2 separate regions of the Homo sapiens genome follow, and region 1 is linked to region 2. Evidence: promoter capture Hi-C in human tissues and cell types (Jung and others, 2019). All regions are on one chromosome and are shown on one strand. Each heading gives the region's core, a stretch centred on a gene start or on the middle of the fragment in contact. The rest is flanking DNA. Distances are from core to core; before and after follow the strand shown.

Evidence for each region. Contacts are between HindIII fragments. The study calls those that stand out against the background at their distance.
Region 1: a fragment that was not itself captured here is called in contact with the fragment with the promoter of NWD1 in region 2 in 5 of the 25 tissues and cell types used here (adrenal gland, aorta, mesenchymal stem cells and 2 more).

Annotation. Positions count from the first base shown.
Region 1 is chr19:16,767,666-16,773,432 of GRCh38, reverse strand. It overlaps NWD1 (NACHT and WD repeat domain containing 1), which reads right to left. Exons shown (of 19, transcript NM_001007525.5): 11 at 110-307. Among named protein-coding and RNA genes, the nearest start is that of NWD1, 51 kb to the right of the region's middle. The HindIII fragment of the contact is 3,804 bases long and covers 1-3,733 here.
Region 2 is chr19:16,715,090-16,721,182 of GRCh38, reverse strand. It overlaps NWD1 (NACHT and WD repeat domain containing 1), which reads right to left and starts at 1,336. Exons shown (of 19, transcript NM_001007525.5): 1 at 890-1,336. The HindIII fragment of the contact is 25,691 bases long and covers 1-6,093 here.

The DNA of each region.
Region 1 (5,767 bases), core at 582-3,081, 52 kb before region 2:
TCCCAACTAGCACAGGGGAGTCCCAGAGGACAACCTCAAACACCTGGCCTTCACTGCCCCCAGGCAAGCAGGTGCCTGCTGGGATTTTTGCTATGCTGGGGAGACTCACCTTTGTGACAGCCGCTGAGAGTTGCCCGGAGGGGTCCTCCCGGGGGCTGGAGGAATCCTCCGAGGGGCACCAGCACAGGGTGTGCGCACAACTGGAACCAGCTCTGGGCCTGTTGGCATAGCTGTCCCACCAGTGCTGGATGTGAGGTGGCGAAGAAATGGAGTCTGGCCAGCAGTTCTGTGTACAGGAGGCTCCTCTCTGCAACAAAGGGATGTAGACTAAGTTGCCTGGATTGAGCCCCCTCTACCCTCCCTGCCAATTGAGTCTCTGCTCCCTGCAGGGGCTCCAGAACAAAAGAAGACACAATACCTCAGCTACTGGCCTCTGCTGTCCGCTCCTGTCTCCTTCTCTGCTCTCCAGACACACTTACCCTTGCTTCAGAGGCACCCAGCTGTTTCCAGTCTCCAGCCTTTGCCCAGGTTGCCTAGAATGCTTCCCTTTCCTTCCTCCCTCCCTTCTTCTCTCCCTCTCTCCCTTCCTTTCTTCCTTCCTCTTTTATCACACTCTGTTGTCCCGGCTGGAGTGCAGTGGCATGATCAAAGCTAACTGCAGCCTCAAACTTCTGGGCTCAAGCAATCCTCCCATCTCAGCCTCCCAAATACTAGGGACTACAGGCATGCGCCACCACACTCAGCTAATTTATTTGTTTGTTTTATTTTATTTTATTTATTTATTTTTGAGATGGAATTTTAGCCTGTCACCTAGGTTGGAGTGCAATGGTGCGATCTTGGCTCACTGCAACCTGCACCTCCCAGGTTCAAGCGATTCTCCTGCCTCAGCCTCCCTAATAGCTGGGACTACAGGTGCCCGCCACCAGGCCCAACTAATTTTTGTGTGTCTAGTGGAAACGGGGTTTCACCATGTTGGCTGGGCTGACCTCAAGTGATCCACCTGCCTCGGCCTCCTAAAGTGCTGGGATTACAGGCATGAGCCACCGCGCCTGGCTATTTATTTTTTTAGAGACAGGGTCTTACTCTGTCACCCAGGCTGGAGTGCAGTGGCACGATCGCAGCTCACTGCAGCCTCAAACTCCTGGGCTCAAGCGATCTTCCGGCCACAGCCTCTATATTAGCTGGGACTGCAGATGCACGTCACCACGCCTCGTTAGTTTTTTATTTTTTGTAGAGACGGGGTCTCGTTATGTTGCCCAGGCTGGTCTCAAACTTCTGGGCTCAAGATATCCTCCTTCCTCGACCCCTCAAAGCTCTGGAATTATAGGCGTGAGCCACTGTGCTCAGACTCAACCTTTTCAATAAAAGTAGGATCAGAGGAGGGATATATTGGAAATCTTTGTACCTTTCACTCAATTTTGCTGTGAACCTAAAACCGTTCTATTAAAAAATGGGCTATTAAGAAAAATTAGCCGAGCATGGTGGCGCGCAGGCCTGTAATCCCAGCTACTCGGGAGGCTGAGACAGGAGAATCGCTGGAACCCAGGAGGCAGAAGTTGGGTGACAGAGCGAGGCTCCTTCTCAAAAAAAAAAAAAAAAAAGGACTCGTGATCGCGTTGGATCATTTAGGATGTTATGTTGAATGGTCCCCATTCGCCAGCGTGCTTGGATGTACGGAGAGCACATGGTTGTCCAGCAGCGCCCTCTGGTGATAACATTTGTTCCTACACCTCCTCCTTGTGCTGGGGGAGCCACAGGTTGTCAATCAAGGGGCTTTGCAGGGAACTTGCTGAGAGATCTGGGCTTTTAAATCTTCCTTAAAATGGGAAGTCATGCCCAAGGCTGTTTTCCTGGGAAGTTGCTCCATCAAGGTTTACAACTCCTGGCGAGCGCCTCTCGCGTTATTTTTCTTTCCAGTTGCCTTAAATTCCAGTTGTTTGGTATGCTGTTCCATCTCCTTCTCTTTATTTATTTGTGTATTTTGAGACAGAGTCTTGCTCTGTCGTGCAAGTTGGAGTGCGGTGGCGTGATCTCGGCTCACCGCAACATCTGCCTCCCGGGTTCAAGCAATTTTCGTGCCTCAGCCTCCCAAGAAGCTGGGATTACAGGCATGCACCACCACACCCGGCTAATTTTTGTATTTTTAGTAGAGATGGGGTTTCACTGTCACCAAGGCTGGTCTCAAACTCCTGGCCTCAAGCAATCTGCCTGCCTCGGCTTCTCAAAGTATTGGGGTTACAGGCGTGAGCCACTGTGCCCAGCCATCTATCTATTTTTAACTAATTAATTTTTTTTTACAGAGATAGGGTCTCGCTATGTTGCCCAGGATGGTCTTGAACTCCTGCCCTCTAGCAATCCTTCTGTCTGGGCCTCCCAAAGTGCTGGGATTAGAAGCGTGAACCCCCGCACTCGGCCCCATCTCCCTCTCTTAAAGGCTGAGACAAACATTAACTATATTTAGGTCCCTGTGGGAGCTGGGGCTATGGCAGATAATCAGTAGGGGTTGTGTGAATGCATAAGAAAGGCATAAATGATTGCAGGCACCAGCATCTTCACATTGGGTGGAGTTCTGGACACATTTTAGTTCAATTGCACATTTTGCAGATGACAAAAATAGGGTTTCAGGGCAGAAATAGCTCATCCTAGGCTATTCATGTCAACAATGCTATCATATGACAGTAACAGGACCCTCGATGGCAACACGGGTGGAGGTTCTGTGTGAACTGATGCGCGTACTCTTCCCAGCAGCCCTAGGTGGGATGGTCACTCAGCATCCCTATTCTGCAGATGGGAAAACTGAGGGCTGTGGGGCAGGGGGAGGGATGGTAAAGGGTTTGCAAGGTCACACTGCCAAGAAGTGGCAGCGCCAAGATTTCAATGGACACGGTGGGGCTCAAAATTTGTGGTCTCTGTGTGTATTTGTCTGTTCTCATGCTGCTAATAAAGACATACCTGAAACTGGGTAATTTATAAAGGAAAGAGGTTTAATTGACCTACAGTTCTGCAGGGCTGGGGAGGCCTCAGGAAACTTACAATCACGGTGGAAGGGGAAGCAAACACGCCCTTCTTCACAAGGCGGGAGGAGAGAGAAGAATGAGAGCTGAGCAAAGGGGGAAGCCCCTTATTTTAAAAAGCCCCATCAGATCTCTTGAGAGCTTACTCAGTATCAGGAGAACAGCATGGAGGAAAACACCTCCATGATTCGATTATCTCCACCTGGTCCCTCCCTCAATGTGTGGGGATTATGGGAAATACAATTCAAGATGATAGCTGGGTGGGGACACAGCCAAACCATATCAATGTGTTAAAGGTAAAAATTTGGCAGGGAGAAAACAGATGATGCCATTGGCCTTATGGAGCTCAGAGTCTGATGTGGCAGACAGATGATGCAAAAGAAAACCAAGAGAAATCATAATTAAAGGCAAAGACAAGCCAGGGGTGGTGGTGTGCACCTGTGGTCCCAGCTACTTGGGAGGCTGAGGTGAGAGGACCACTGGAGCCCAGGAGTTTGAAGGTGCTGTGCGCTATGATCATGCCATTGCACTCCAGCCTGGACAACAGGGCAAGACTTTGTCTCTAAAAAAAGAAAAAAGAAAAAGAGCCAAGACAGATGGAAAACAGGGTGCAGTGATAGAAAATTCAGAGGCAAGGATCGGGGAGACATAGAGAAGTTAAGCTTCAGTGGTGGCCAGACAAGGCTTCTCTGAGGAATCGCATTTAGCTGAGCTCCAAAGTTGCCACAGAAGGGCTGGGGGAGGCGAGTCCCAGCCCAGGGCCCCCGGCACGCAAGCTTGGATGTTTCCATCACTGTCTGGGGCAGTAAGGATGGAGACAAGCATCTCCCAGGAGAGTGAGTCATACACAGCCATGTAGGCTACAGTACTGGAAAGGTCATTATCCCAAGGACAATGGGAGAACCATCTAGAAGATTCAATAGAGATACTTAGTGAGATTTGGGCTCTTTTTTTTTTTTAATGGAATTTTGCTCTGTCGCCAAGGCTGGAGTGCAGTGGTGTGATCCCGGCTCACTGCAACCTCTGCCTGCTGGGTTCAAGCAATTCTCCTGCCTCAGCCTCCCGAGTAACTGGGATTACAGGTGCGTGCTACCGTGCCTGGCTAATTTTTGCATTTTTAGTAGAGATGGGGTTTCACCCTGTTGGCCAGGCTGGTCTCAAACTCCTGACCTCAAGTGATCTGCCTGCCTCAGCCTCCCGAAGTGCTGGGATTATAGGCATGAGCCACCACACCTGGCCATCTGATGGTTTTATAAGGCAATTTTCCCAGCTTTTGTTCCCTGTCTCTTGAACACCTGGCATCAAGTGATCCACCTGCCTCAGCCTCCCAAAGTGCCGAGATAACAGGCTTGAGCCACCCCGGCCGTTTTGGGCTTTCAAGATTCTTCTGAGTGCTGTATGGAAAATAAACCAAAGGGTAAGAATGAATCCAAAGTAGGCAGACCTCCGAGGATGCTGTCTGGAGGAGAGACAGCAGCACTGGCCCTGGGCTGATGGCCAGGAGAATAAAGAGAAGCAGATAGTTCAAGGATGGTTTGCAGGGCCAGGATTAGAAGCTCTGCATAGGAATCACAGGCCACTGGTCATCCTTTTTAACATCCTATTCACATCCATGGGGAAGCACTTTGGATACAGAGACTTAAGCATCTTGAATACTCCCCCTTCCTTTGTGAATTCAGCTCACAATTTATTGCTCTTTGTTAACATGGTATTTAAGGCCCCAGGTCTAAACACTCCTTTGAGTTTTCACTTTTCTGTGAAACTTCTGTGCATGTAAAATTAAAATGTGTGAGCCCTTTCTCCTGTTAAGCTGTCTTAATTCACAGGCCCCTATCACTGAACATAAAAGGGTAGAGAAAAAGATATTATTTATTGTCTCCCATAGTTTGATTATAAAATGGTGTAGCTTTTGTGGAAAATGAAGTGGTCGTTCCTCAAAAAGTTAAACACAAAATTTCCATGTGATCTAGTGATTCCTTTTCACAATATCCAAAAGGTAGAAACACACAAATGTCCACAGACAGATGAACGGATAAACAAAATGTGGCATATTCATACAATGCAATATTATTAAGCCTTTAAAAGGAAGGAAATTCTTAGCCTTGAAAAGGAAGGAAATTCTTAGCCAGGCATGGTAGCTCAAGCCTGTAATCCCAGCACTTTGGGAGGCCAAGGTGGGCAGATCACATGAGGTCAGGAGTTCGAGACCAGCCTGGCTAACATAGCAAAACCCCATCTCTACTAAAAAATACAAAAATTAGCTGCATGTGGTGGCACACACCTGTAATCCCAGCTACTCTGGAGGCTGAGGCAGGACAATTGCTTGAGCAACCCAGGAGGTGGAGGTTGCGGTGAGCTGAGATCGTGCCACTGCACTCCAGCCTGGGTGACAGAGCGAGACTCTGTCGTGCAAAAAAAAAAAAAAAAAAAAAAAAAGGAAGGAAATTCTGACATATGCTACAATGTGGATGAAACTTGAGGACATTCTGCTCAGTAAGAGAAGTCAGAGAATAAAGGACAAATACTGTAAAATACCACTTATATGAAATACCTAAAGCAGTCAAATTTATAGAGACAGAAAATAGCATGGTGGTTGCCAGGGACTGGGGTGAAGGGAGAATGGGGAGAGATATGGGTTGGCTCTGTGTCCCTACCCAAATCTCATCTTGAATTGTAATCCCCATAATCCCCACATGTTGAGGGAGGGACCAGGTGGGAGGTGATTGGATCATGGGGGTGGTTCCCCCATGCTG
Region 2 (6,093 bases), core at 87-2,586:
CACCAAAGTCGTCACAATTAAAAAGTATCCCTAGGCTGGGTGCAGTGGCTCACACCTCTAATCCCAGCACTTTGAGAGGCCAAAACAGGCAGATTACTTGAGGCCAGGAGTTCGAGACCAGCCTGGCCAACATGGCGAAACCCCATCTCTACTAAAAATACAAAAATTAGCTGGCGCGGTGGCATGTACCTGTAATCCCAGCTACTCGGAAGCCTGAGGCAGGAGAATCGCTTGAACCCGGGAAGCAGAGGTTGCAGTGAGCCGAGATCGTGCCACTGCGCTCCAGCCTGGGCAACAGAGCAAGGCTCCATCTCAAAAAGAAAAAGTCTCGGCCAGGTGCGGTGGCTCACGCCTGTAATCCCAGCACTTTGGGAAGCCGAGGAGGGCAGATCATGAGGTCAGGAGATCGAGACCATCCTGGCTAACACGGTGAAACCCCGTCTCTACTAAAAATACAAAAAATTAGCCGGGCATGTGGCGGACACCTGTAGTCCCAGCTACTCAGGAGGCTGAGGCAGGAGAATGGTGTGAACCTGGGAGGCAGAGCTTGCAGTAACTGAGATCACGCCACTGCACTCCAGCCTAGTGACAGAGCGAGACTCCGTCTCAAAAAAAAAAAAGTCTCCCTAGACATTGCAATGTCCCCTAGGGGGCAGAATTCCCCTTACTCGAGAACCCCCTAGTCTAATGCATTTAGCTTATTTCAACCTCAGGGCCTTTGCACGTCCTGTACTTTAGTGCTCTATGCTGCATCTGTTCATGTTGTTCACATTTTAGCTTCAATGCTACCTCCTCCTGAGAGGCTGTCTCTGACCATCCCATTGCGTAGTGACCCCTTAAGTCACTCCCAATGCCATCGCCTTATTTTAATTTTCTGCATGGTACTCACCAACAGCTGATATGTTTCTACATGTTATTGTTTGTCTGTCCCACGAGAAAGTGAATTCCATGAGCCCAAGGATCTTGTCTGGTAAGGCTGGCGTGCCTGGCACATAGTAGGTGCTCAGTAAATTATCATCACAACAGCTTCCTCCACAACTGTTTCTCTTTCTGGACTTCTGTTTGTTGCTGAAGAAGACAGCTGAGCAGGACTGGGCTTCCCCAGTAAGGACAGAGGCCCTTTGCAGTGTCAGCGTTCTGGCTGTCCTGGGGGCTCCAGCCTCTCTTTAGCCTTTGCTGGTAGTTGAACGACCAATTTAGACTCCTCTGGGGAAATAGGTTAGAGAGGACAGTTTCCTGGCCTCGGCGCCACCCGGAAGACAAGCCCCTGGCTATCCTAGTAACTTTCGTCTTAGGTATTTTATGGGTCTCTCCTTGCCCAATTCTCCCAGCAACTGGGATAATGAAAGCGATTGTTTGCACTAGGGCACCAGCTTAGCCGGGCATTCAGCCCAGACTTAGTGGTTAACTATTGTGTGCCAGGCTGATACGGCTCCTCGTAAAAGATGCCATTTGCTGACAGTCTAGGAGGTGCAGTTGGTTGGCATTTGGCATTAGCAGTCCACATTATTACCCCAAGAGACAGACATTATGATCCTGTTTCACAGATGAAGAAAACAAGATGCAGAAAGGTGAAGTCCCTTGCCTGTGACGCTTCACTACTCTGCACTTGAATTTTCTCACTAACTTCCTGTGTTGGTGAGACAATGAAAAGCATTTATATAGAGAGTGAGACTAACACTACACCTACATCACAGGAAGGGCCCGTGAGATGTTAGCCATGATTAATTACCATTAAAACTCCAAGACCGGGCACGGTGGCTCATGCCTGTAATCCCAGCACTTTGGGAGGCCGAGGCAGGCGGATCACCTGAGGTCAGGCATTCAAGACCAGACTGGCCAATATGGTGAGACCCCTATCTCTACTAAAAATAGAAAAATTAGCTGGGCGTGGTGACGCATGCCTGTAATCCCAGCTACTTGGGAGGCTGAGGCACAAGAATTGTTTGAACCTGGGAGTTGGAGGTTGCAATGAGCCGAGATCCTGCCACTGCACTGCAGCCTGGGCGACAGAGCAAGACTTTGTCTCAAAAACTCACAAATCACCCGGGCATGGTGGCTCACGCTAGTAATCCCAGCACTTTGGGAGGCCAAGGCAGGCAGATCACGAGGTCAGGAGATCAAGACCATCCTGGCTAACACGGTGAAACCCCGTCTCTACAAAAAAAACAAAACAAAACAAAACAAAAAATTAGCTGGGCGTGGTGGTTTGCACCTGTAGTCCCAGCTACTCAGGAAGCTGAGGCAGGAGAATGGCATGAACCCGGGAGGTGGAGCTTGCAGTGAGCCGAGATCGCACCACTGCACTCCAGCCTGGGTGACAGAGCGAGACTTTGTCTCAAAAACTCACAAGTCACCCAGGCATGGTGGCTCACGCCAGTAATCCCAGCACTTTGGGAGGCCAAGGCAGGCAGATCACGAGGTCAGGAGATCAAGACCATCCTGGCTAACATGGTGAAACCCTGTCTCTACATAAAAAACAAAAAACAAAAAACAAAAAATTAGCTGGGCGTGGTGGTTTGCACCTGTAGTCCCAGCTACTCAGGAAGCTGAGGCAGGAGAATGGCATGAACCTGGGAGGTGGAGCTTGCAGTGAGCCGAGATTGCGCCACTGCACTCCAGCCTGGGCGACAGAGCAAGCCTCCATCTCAAAGAAAAAGTAATAATAATAGTGTTACTATATTTTCAGGGATAGAAGTTTCAGATACTTGGTCAGGCGCGGTGGCTCATGCCTGTAATCCCAGCACTTTGGGAGGCCGAGGTGGGCAAATCACCTGAGGTCAGGAATTTGAGACCAGCTTGGCCAATATGGTGAGACCCCATCTCTACTAAAAACAAAAATTAGCCAGGCATGGTGGCAGGTGCCTGTAATCCCAGCTACTTGGGAGGCTGAGGCAGGAGGATCACTTAAACCTGGGAGGCAGAGGTTGCAGTGAGCAGAGATTACGCCATTGCACTCCAGCCTGGACGACAGAGCCACACTACACTCCATCTCACAAAAAAAAAAAAAAAAGAAGTTTCAGGTGCTGCCAGGCACAGTGGCATGCTCCTGTAGTCCCAGCTACTGGGGAAGCCAAGGTGGGAGGATCACTCAAGGCCAGGAGTTCAAGACCAGCCTGGGCAACATAGTGAGACCCTCATCTCTACAACAACAACAATAACAAAAAATTAGCTGGGCGTGGTGGTGTGTGCCTGTAGTCCCAACTACTCGGGAGGTTGAGGTGGGAGGATTACTTGAGCCCAGAAAGTCAAGGCTGCAGTGAGATATGATTGCCTCACTGCACTCTAGCCTGGGCAACAGAGCAAAACCCTGTCTCTTTAAAACAAAAAAAGAAAAAGAAAAGAAAAGAAGTTTTAGGGGCTGAAATTTTAGGAAACATACTGTCTCCAATACTCCAAGCAATCTGGGGGCTTCAATTTACTATCCCAGTTCATTGATGATGAAAACAGGCTTCCAGACCAACGTGATGAAACCCTGTCTCTACTAAAAATACAAAAATTAGCTGGGCGTGGTGGTGAGCACCTGTAATCCCAGCTACTCGAGAGGCTGAGGCAGGAGAATCGCATGAACCCGGAAGGCGGAGGTTGCAGTGAGCCGAGATCACGCCATTGCACTCCAGCCTGGGTGACAAAGTGAGACTGCGTTTAAAAAAAAAAAGAAGAAGAAAGAAAATAGGCTTCAAAGAAGTTAAACAATTTCCCAAGTTTCCTTGGCAAGGAAGTGAGCTAACAGCCAAATTCGGATATGATTCCAAAACTCCACAGTTATTGGCTAAACTGGAATCTACAGATATTAAAAAATTATTGGCAAAGTTTTTGCAGTGTGACAATGGTATTGCGGTGAGGTTTTTGTTTTTATTTTTGTTTTTGTTTTCGAGACAGTTTTGCTCTTGTCATCCAGGCTGGAGTGCAATGGCATGATCTTGGCTTACTGCAACCTCCGCCTCCCACGTTCAAGCAATTCTCCTGTCTCACCCTCCCGAGTAGCTGGGATTAGAGGCACCTGCCACCACACCTGGCTAATATTTTGTATTTTTAGTAGAGACGGGGTTTCACCATGTTGTCCAGGCTGGTCTGGAACTCCTGACCTCAGGTGATGCACCCGCCTCGGCCTCCCAAAGTGCTGGGATTACAGGCATGAGCCACCATGCCCAGACTGGTTAGGCTTTTAAAGAGTCTGGGCCAGGTGCAGTGCCTCATGCCTGTTATCCCAGCAGTTTGGGAGGCCAAGGCAGGAGGATCACTTAAGCTCAGGAGTTCAAGACCAGACTGGCCAACATATTGAGACTCCATTTTTACAAAAAATTAAAAAATTAACTAGACATGGTGCATGTGCCAGTGGTCCCTGCTACTCTGAGGTGGAAGGATCACTTGAACCTGGGAAGTTGAGGCTGCAATGAGTCGTGATCACGCCACTGTGCTCCAGCTTGGGCAACAGAGTGAGACCCTGTCTCAAAAAAAAAAAAAAAAGAGTGTGTATGTTTTAGAGACATATAACAAAATATTTATGGAATGATAAGATAGCTGAGATTTGCTTCAAAATAATACCTGACAGGAAGGCAAATGGGATGGGGGCGGGGTTGGCGAGGTTGAGTAGGGGGTGATGGTGGTTAGGGTGGGCTGCGGTTCATTATACTATTCTGCCTACTTTAGTGAGTGTTTTAAATTCCCTATCAGAATATGCTTCAATTTTGTACTCTTAAAAAATAGTGGCTGGGGCCGGGCACACTCCCAGCACTTTGGGAGGCCCAGGCGGGATGATCACTTGAGGCCCAGAGTTTGAGACCAGCCTGGCCAACATGGTGAAATCCCATCTCTACTAAAAATACAAAAAAAAAAAAAAATTAGCCAGGCGTGGTGGTGCATGCCTGTAATCCCAGCTACTTGGGAGGCAGAAGCAGGAGAATTGCTCGAACCCAGGAGGCGGAAGTTGCAGTGAGCTGAGATCACACCACTGCACTCCAGCCTGGGGGACAGAGCAAGACTGTCTCAAAAAAAAAAAAAAATAGTGGCTGGGAATGTTGGCTGACGCCTGTAATCCCAGCATTTTGGGAGGCTGAGGCAGGTGGATTGCTTGAGCCCAGGAGTTCGAGACCAGCCTGGACAATATAGTGAGATCCCATATCTACAAAAAATAAAAATTCACCAGACTTGGTGGTGCATGCCTGTAGTCCCAGCTACTGGGCAGGCTGAGGTGGGAGGATCACTTGAGCCCAAGAGGTTGAGGCTGCAGTGAGCTATGACTGCACCACTGCACTCCAGCCTGGGTGACAGAGCAAGACCCTGTTTTAAAAAAAAAAAAAAAAATCGTGATTATCCTTATGCATTGAGTAACCACGAGCCCAGGGCTAGGGGATTTCTGTGTAGTCAACCTTAGAACCAACACAGGGGTTAGGAGTGCCAAGCTCACCCCTACAGTCAAAAATCTGCATGTAACTTTTGACTGCATGTAACACCTACTATTGACCAAAAGCCTTATTGATGACATAAATGGTCGATGAACACTGATTTTCTACATTCTATGTATTATATACTGTATTCTTGCAATAAGTAAGCTAGAGAAAAGCAAATGTCACTAAAAAAATTCTGGTGTTTTGTTTTTGTTTTGTTTTTTGTTTGTTTGTTTCATTATTTGAGATGGAGTCTCACTCTGTTGCCCAGGCTGGAGTGCAGTGGCATGACCTCAACTCACTGCAACCTCTGCCTCCTGGGTTCAAGCGATTCTCCTGCCTCAGCCTCTGAGTAGCTGGGATTACAGGCGCCCACCACCACGCCTGGCTAATTTTTGTATTTTTAGTAGAGGCAGGGTTTTGCCATGTTGGCTAGGCTGGTCTTGAACTCCTGGCCTCAGGTGATCCACCCGTCTTGGCCTCTAAAGTGCTGGGATTACAGGAGTGAGCCACTGTGCCCGTCCAAACTTCAAAGGAAGAGAAAACATATTTACTATGGATGAAGTGGAAGTGGATCATCACAAAAGTGTTCATCCTTGTCGTCTTCACCTTGAGCAGGCTAAGGAGAAGGAGAAGGAGGAAGAACAGAAGGAGGGCTTGGTCTTGCTGTCTCAGGGGTGGCAGGGGTGGAAAAAAATCCACG